Regions from separate parts of the Homo sapiens genome. Here region 2 is linked to region 1. The links are contacts of gene promoters, found by promoter capture Hi-C in human tissues and cell types (Jung and others, 2019). All regions are on one chromosome and are shown on one strand. The core of a region is centred on a gene start or on the middle of the fragment in contact, and the rest is flanking DNA. Distances in the headings are between cores, read along the strand shown.

The links. The method cuts DNA at HindIII sites, captures the fragments that hold promoters and counts their contacts. A contact is called where the count stands out against the background at its distance.
Region 2: a contact is called between a fragment that was not itself captured here and the fragment with the promoter of CCSAP in region 1, in 1 of the 25 tissues and cell types used here (hippocampus).

The regions. Positions count from the first base shown.
Region 1 is chr1:229,340,463-229,344,750 of GRCh38, reverse strand. CCSAP (centriole, cilia and spindle associated protein) reads left to right here and starts at 1,704. Exons shown (of 4, transcript NM_145257.5): 1 at 1,704-1,839; 2 at 2,238-2,652. The coding sequence starts at 2,286. RefSeq lists silencers at 255-549, 1,396-2,255, 2,456-2,655. The HindIII fragment of the contact is 5,214 bases long and covers 1-4,283 here.
Region 2 is chr1:230,377,001-230,380,863 of GRCh38, reverse strand. The region is part of intron 1 of PGBD5 (piggyBac transposable element derived 5); the gene reads left to right. Among named protein-coding and RNA genes, the nearest start is that of PGBD5, 47 kb to the left of the region's middle. The HindIII fragment of the contact is 4,664 bases long and covers 1-3,863 here.

The DNA of each region.
Region 1 (4,288 bases), core at 455-2,954:
TTAGCTGTTTTAAACCACTGAGTTTTGGAGTGAATTATGCAGCAAAAGCTGAAACCGATGGTGTCCTGCATGTCCCATAGAACTACATATAACCATTTCCCCACCTTATTCAATCTTTATTAAGGCTACTTTGGTTGCAAACATCAGAAACCAACCCCAGCCAGCTTAAACAAAAGGAAAGTGCATTAGAATGTCCCTAATGTAAGTCAAGGAACAGAAAATAAAGTTGGGAAGGGGAGAAATCATGGCGTCCGCGGACTCATTAGCAGCAGGGTATCCTGGAGTTTCCGTCCAGAAAACTGCCATTAACACAATCCCGTGCTAATGATTGGACTAGTAACTTCAAGTTTTCAGAGCAGACGGTCTGACCCGCCCCATTTGGGCCAGTAGCCGCCTCTGAATCATTTAGCTATGATGAGGTGGGCGGTGGTGGTGGGAGGCAGGATGCGGACACGTAGAAAGTAGGTGAATTCGTGGGAATCCTGACGTGGAAGCCGTGAGCGCTACTCACGGCCTGGGCTTGCTTTTTAACTGCTATATATATATTTAGATTTTCCAAAAGTTTTTTCCTTTCAAATCTTTTTGCAGCTACTGTATCAAGGCTCTTTTTTTAAGAAAGGGAAAATAGTGCAGGACCACTTCTGAAACTGTAACAAATGGGGCAACGTTGTATTCTTCTGTACAATGTAACTGGATCTGTGAAGGTTTTTATTTTTTATTTTTTATTTTTTTTGAGACGGAGTCTTGCTCTGTCGCCCAGGCTGGAGTGCAGTGGCGCAATCTAGGCTCACTGCAAGCTCCGCCTCCCGGGTTCACGCCATTCTCCTGCCTCAGGCTCCCGAGTAGCTGGGACTACAGCCGTTCACCACCACGCCGGGCTAATTCTTTTTATTTTTATTTTTTTAGTAGAGATGGGGTTTCACTGTGTTAGCCAGGATGGTCTCGATCTCCTGACCTCGTGAGCCACCCGCCTCGGCCTCCCAAAATGCTGGGATTACAGGCGTGAGCCACAGCGCTCAGCCGGATCTGTGGAGGTTTTATGAGCAAAAAGGGAAAACAGTGCGGGGCCACTTTTGAAACTGTAACAAATGGGGCAACGTTGTATACTTCTGCACAAAGTAACTGGATCTGTGAAGGTTTTATGTGTAAAAAGGGAAAAGAGTGTGGGGCCACTTTTGAAACTGTAACAAATGGGACAACTTTGTATACTTCTGCACAACGTAAGTTAATCTGTCAAGCTTTTATGTGCAAACGAATCTCTGAGCGAGTGAAATGGTTTTGATCAAAATCTAAAAGAATTTGGGGAGTGTAGATATAAAAGGGAGTTAAAGCCAGAGTAACAGGTGTTGTGAACACAGAGAGGAAGAACCGGTAGGTTTCGAGTGAGGACAGAGAGTGTCGCCCCCGGCCGCAGCCTGGGGGGGCTGCATATCTGGAGGGATCATCTCTTGCCCCTAACTGACGACTCCTGCAGAGTGACGCGTGCCTGGGACAGCGTCTGCTGGGACCAGGGTGGACGGGCACCTCAAATAAGTGGGCCAGGGACCTGGGCCTGGGCCCCTCGGACTGGCAGGCACGCCCGCACCCCCGCGCCTCGCGCTCTCTACGGAAGCAGCCGCCCCCACGGAGCGGGCGGAGGCCCGGGGGCCGGGAGCGCGCGTGGAGGCTCCGGGACTGAGGCGGCGCCACCGCCTCCCGCCTGCAGCTGGAGCGCGGGCCGCCGCGGCGACATCTTGCTCAGGAGGAAAGCGCGCGGGAGAGCGAGCTGCGCTTTAGCTGCTGCGCCACGCGCGCCTCGGGCCTGGGCGCAGAGGATCGGCCGGGCGCGGCGGGAAGGAGGTAAGGCAGCCCCGCGGGACCGCACGCCTAGCTCAGGGGACGCCTCCGGAGACCCCAGGACCACCCGATCACGGGCCCCGCCGCTCCCCTCCCTCGCTCCTCCTCCCGCTCAGCCCCAGTCTCCTGCGGTCCCCTCGCCCCAGCCCGCAGCCTCCCTGCCTTCCGCCCACTGAGCAGCCCTCCTCGGCGGCGCGCCCCTCGACCCCAGCAGCCCCGGTCCCCGCCTCTGCTCTTGGTCCCGGCCGCCGGGTGAGGCCGCCCCCGCCCCGCCCCCTCCCCGCCCTCGCCGGGACCCGCCCCCTGCTCCCGTCCGGGCGGGGCTCCGGGTTTAAACGTCGCGGCGGGCAGGGCCGGCGGAGGGGCGGGGCGGCCTCTGTGTCGTGTACCGGGTCCCGTAGGCTGCGGGCAGCGAGGAGCGGCTGGCGCTCGAGGCGGCGGACGGCACCATGTCCCCGGGGAGCGGGGTGAAGAGCGAGTACATGAAGCGCTACCAGGAGCCGCGCTGGGAGGAGTACGGGCCGTGCTACCGCGAGCTGCTGCACTACCGCCTAGGCCGCCGGCTGCTGGAGCAGGCGCACGCGCCCTGGCTCTGGGACGACTGGGGCCCGGCCGGCTCCTCGGAGGACTCGGCGTCGTCAGAGTCGTCGGGCGCCGGGGGCCCCGCACCCCGGTGCGCCCCGCCCTCGCCCCCGCCGCCCGTAGAGCCGGCGACCCAGGAGGAGGCGGAACGGCGGGCGCGCGGGGCCCCGGAGGAGCAGGACGCGGAGGCCGGGGACGCGGAGGCCGAGGACGCGGAGGACGCGGCTCTGCCAGGTACCCGGCCCGGAGGGGAGCGCGAGGGGCCTGCACGCAGGGACGGTTTGCTCTAAGCTCTGAGCAGCTGATCTCTTATTTCTTGCGCCACTCGGGGCTGGCTCTTCCTTTTTTTTTTTTCGGTTGACAGAATCCGTCTCTCTTGACAAAATAGGGAAGGTGGCAGCCTTTGCCACCCTTTATTTCCTTAATTAGGTGGCTTTCGGTCGAGCCAGCGGTGAACTCAATTGAAGCGCCGCTGGCTGAGTCTGGGGTCTTTCCTCGCGGGCCTCTGCGGCTTGGCAAACCTCTGAATCCCATCTTATTTCTTGGCGAACCACTGAGTCCCATCTGCTTATTTCTAGGCGCCCATTTTTGATCAGAGGAGCCCCAGCTTTAATCAGATTCTCAAAGGTAACCCAAAAGGTTAAGAACCACAGAGCTAAGCTTTGTCTGATGAATGGGGCCATTGTTTTCCGTATTAACTCCCCGACCTCGCTACGCTGTCCCTAAAGAATATTTTGCATTTGTTTACGTGGAGTGTTGAATAACTTGGCTGTGAGAGCATCTTTATAAGTGCTAGGGCCTCTCCCCTTCCGTCCCTCCCCATCCTCCCTCGCCTGTCCAGATCCGAAAGCGCCGGTGGCGCTGCGCGTGTTTTCAAGGCATGGCCCCTTCACCTTCTTTCCTGCCCAGAGGCTTGCAGGGCTGGGGACCCAGTTGAACGCCTCAGTACAGCCTGGAGTAACCAATGGTTCCTTCCAGATCACTGGATTTTAAAAAGGCTCGAGTGAGGAAAACATGGAAAATGTATTGGGAGCCTGTTAGACATTCAGTCACTGATCTGGGAATATGTATGTTGTCATTTAATATTCAAAACAATCCCAAAAGAGACCATGTTGTAATCTTTTTTTTTTTTTTTTTTTGAGACGGAGTCTCGCTCTGTGGCCCAGGCTGGAGCGCAGTGGCGCGATCTCGGCTCACTGCAACCTCTGCCTCCCGGATTCACGTCATTCTCCTGCCTCAGCCTCCCGAGTAGCTGGGATTACAGGCACGCGCCACCACGCCCGGCTAATTTTTGTATTTTTAGTGGAGACGGGGTTTCACCATGTTGGTCAGGCTGGTCTCAAACTCCTCACCTCGTGATCCGCCCGCCTCGGCCTCCCAAAGTGTTGGGATTACAGGAGTGAGCCACCATGCCCGGCCCTAATCTCAGTTTTATAGATGAAAAAACGGAAGCTCAGGATCAGTGACTTTATTCATTTATGTGTTTATTTTTGTTTACCCGATTGCAAGCCAATCAGACTCTTCCTGGCTTCTCTGTGAGAGGCTGAGGAGGAGATGAAATTTCGGCTATGAGCCGGGTTGCTTTGCTCTTGGTTTTACCATCTTCAGCTATTTTCAGCTCATCATCGGAGGCAGGGCTGCCTCCTCCCATCATGATGTTACTTGTGAATCCCCACAAATCCTGATGCTTCAGTGATCACTGCTAGAAATGCAAATAACAGAAGGTGGAGGGGGTAGGGAACATGCCTTCCAGATTATTCCTGTGGGTACTGATCTGCTAGCTAAATTGAGATGTACTTTATCAGGCTAAATGGCTTTTCTCTCCCCGATCTTTTATTGTTTGTGATGGAGTTGTCAAATATTTGCATGC
Region 2 (3,863 bases), core at 488-2,987, 1.0 Mb before region 1:
AGCTGCTCCTGTCTTTATTCCACTTAAGCTTTCTCTTGACTGTTGAGCCTTTTGGTGGACAGAGCCCTGCACAAGCTGTGATTGAGCCCAAGACACAGGGTCTTGAAAGCAGAGATTGATGCACCTGGTTCTTGAGTACAGGTGTGGGTGCTGACCTGTATAGCTTCCCTCTTCACCAGGTGTGCATTTGCTTACAGGGTTTTCTTTGGAAACCCTAAAGCCATAACCTGGGCTTGGCATGGATAGTACCTTGCATCTCCTTTCTCCTTCCTGCAGATGCACAGATTCTTGGCAGCAAGAGTGAGGGGCTGTTGCTTATGTCCACTTGGAGAGCCGGGAGGGGAAGGAGGTGCTGGTTCTGCCCAAGACGGTAGTGGTGGGTGTCAGTTTCCACCACAAGTGACCAGCCTTTAGGGTGAGCACCTGGAAGGAACCCTGCAGGGCCCCACTTAGGTATGCCCTGCCCAGAGGGCCCAGCACAGGGAGGCAGAGCGCCCTGTGGCTGCCAGTGACACTGGTCTGGCATCTGAATTAGTAACTCACAGTAGGATTAATTTCTCTGTGTAATTAAGTAAAGGAAAATGGCATGAAAGTACTGCCTGTCTCTTCCACACAGGGCTTTGTTTTCTATCCTGTGATTACAAGGGAAGTCCATTTGACTTAATTAACTTAGAAAGTATCTAGCAGACCCATTCATCTGGAGCTGGCCTCCTATCTGCCTTTGGACAGATGCATCACAAACTCCTACCAGGTGTGTGACATTTGCTGCACTCTGGGTCTGCAAATGTAAATAGCACACGGCCCCTGCTCTGTGGAATTGCCTAGCCCTGTCCAGCTCTGCACAGTAGATAAACATGAAATCAGTAATTACAATCCAGTATGCTGAGGGTAGTAATGAAGAAATGAGGTGCAGGAGCCAGACTTCCTGGGTTCAAATCCCGCCACTTGGGCAAGTCCCTGAATCTCTGGCTTCAGTTTTCTTCATCTGTAAAATGGGGATGATGATAAGATTTCAGAGGGGAGGATGCAGATTAAATGAGCCAACATGTGTCAGTGCCTAGAAAAGCACCTCGCACTGTAGAGGACATGGTTGGTAACTGTTGGCTCTGTTTATCAAATCAGAGAGGTGGATCGATCACTACGAGGGTGCAGAGGAAGGAGGAACTACCTCTGGGGTGCCAACAGGCTAGTTGAGCTGGGTATTGAAGTAGGAATGAGTGTGTGGAAGATGACCAGTTAACAATGCAAGAGCAAGGAGGCCTGAAGGGCATTGCATGCTGGTGAACATGAGTATTTTAGTACAGCTGAAACTGAAAAGGTACAGAAAGTGGAGGTAGGCATTGAAGAGCCAATGGGGCATTTCAGTGAGGGGTATGGTATGATGAGAATTGTGTTTTTGAAAGTTAATTCTAATAATGATGGAAACAGAGTCTGATTAGCAGGCTACTACAGTCAGCCTGAAGAGATCCTGAGGGGACCTGGTGGAGAGCCGGCATCCTGGAATGGGCAGATGGGACTTGGAGAGAGTAATTTGAACGTGGAGCTTGTGGATGGGATGTGGAAGTGGAGGTGAGGAGCAGGGGTTGAAAGGAGGTCGCCAGGGTTGTGGCATGAATTACTAAGTGAATGGGGTGCTGGTCACAAAGCAGGAGAGCAGGTTGGGCAGGCAGCAGGTGGGTGAGGTTTGGCATGCTGGGCGCAGTCTTTCCTCCCCTAGAGTTGGACATCTAGGGATTGGCTCAGGACAGTGGCTGGACTGGAAGTAAGAATCGGAAGTCATGTGAGTGAGGCCATGGTTGGTTGTGAGGCATCAGATGGGTTCCCTTAGGCTCCCCCTAGTCCTTGGGGTGGCTTTGTTGAACAGAAAAACGTCCCCTCAAGGTGGCTGCAGCTCTGCAGGCTCGTGACTTGGCCATCAGCTCCTTTCACCTTGTACATACATCACCTTGGGACCTCAGGCAATGGCTGCTTTCTTTGGGTTGACTCATCAGTGTCTTTATGAAAGACAGTAATATCAACCCTATTCATAGGGTTATTGAGAAGACTGAAGGACTGAAGGCCTGTGAAAGGGTTTCTTATCTCATCCAGACATTATGGTCTTTGCCCATTTCAGGAAATGTTGGCCATGCTGAGATCTACGGGCTGCAAGGGAAGCTTCCATGCTCAGGGCTGTACTGCAGCTCAGAGAAGAGCTTTTATGGGGGCATTTGTCCTTGCAGGGTTTACAGAGAACAGGCAAGAAGTAGGCGGTGGTTCAAACAGAGGTGGAGAGAGAGGTGGCACCTTCCTTCAGAGAACTACACACAATCAGGAGAAATCCCAGCTCCCATCTCCAAGCTATACTACTGATGTCATTTCTTCCCAGACCCTAAAGGCATGCTCAGGTGCTTGTAGGTGAGCATATATGAACTAGCAATGTGGCTCCAGGTAACTGGGAGATTTCTGAATACAGAGAGAAAAGGGATTGAGTTATGACCTTAGGGGATGGAAGACGGGAGGAGGCTATTTTATCTTTGTACTCAGCATTAACTTGACAGCAAATCCTGTTTATGAAGGAACCACCTGATGACCATTTCATTATAATCCCTGCAATGGCAGTGATTTGATTTCTTTGTGCTGTGTTAGATCCTGTGTCTACCGGAGAGGCCAGGGAAGGTGGGCATAGAAGCAGTCCAATACTAGGTCCCATGTGGTAGCTTAAAATCCTCATCACCACCAGGAGGAACATGAACATTCCCAGAATAACTTCTGCTGCTCTTGATTCCAGAAGTAAAAGTATGTTTGGTATTTGTCTGCTAACGTGTGACATGCTCACCTGCTGAGCTTTCTGTACTTGGACTCAAAGGAGTAGCCAGAAAGGGATCTCAATGAGGAGTGCATGTTTTCTATTTTCAGTCTGTATAAATATCACATTGCTCCTCCTCAGACTCAAATTCAAGCCAGAGTTGCATTCTTATTTGGCCTCACTGGTCTTTAAGAAAGAGCCTGATTACCATGTCTGCACTGGGAGGCACATGCCCAAAATGCTAGCATTGCATCAGACGGCATTCATAATGATGGCCAGTGCTTATCCCAAATGTATGAGCCGGATGCTGCACTGTGCTTTATGCACAGTATTTCATTTTATTCTCACAATGACTCTTTGAGGTGGATACTCTAATCTTTGCCATTTTACAGATGGGGAAATGAAGGCTGTGTGGGATTATGTACCTTGACCAGGGCACCTGTTCGGTAGGTCAGATATGCCTGACTACAGAACTCGAGCTCTCTTCGTGCAAAGTACTCTCGGGGACTCTGCAGGACCTGAGCTGCAGTTGCTCAGCATAGTGCCCGGCCGGGATCTGCAGCCAAGCGATTCATTCACAGGTACAGCTGTCTTAGTAAGGCCCTTCCAGCTCTGGGCAAGAGATCTTTTCATCCATGTGTTATTGGCATCTTCATCATCATCATCACAGCTTCTGCCTTTATGAAGGATTTATCACGTGTTGATGTCAGCATTTCACCTGGATGGCCATTGCTTCTTTGTGCCTATGACAGTCACTGCTCACCTCTCTGATTCTGCAAACCACAGTGGCACACAATGTTGGAATCAGGGTTAAGTCATCTGCAGGACATCTGTCCCTCTCTTCTGTTGGAGGTAAACCACCATTCCTTCTTATCTCAAGGCATTTGCTTCAAGGTAGTCAATCTCAGCACCTTACACTTATGCATTTAGGAGCTCATTCATCTAGGGGCTGTATGCACTTGGAGTTAGGAAGGGCCTTTTTCTGCACCCAGCCAGACTGACCTCTGCTCTGCACCAAAGGCAGGAAGCTCTATGCCCAGAGAAGTGCCCTTTCTCTGTGAGTGGGCCCTTACTTGCT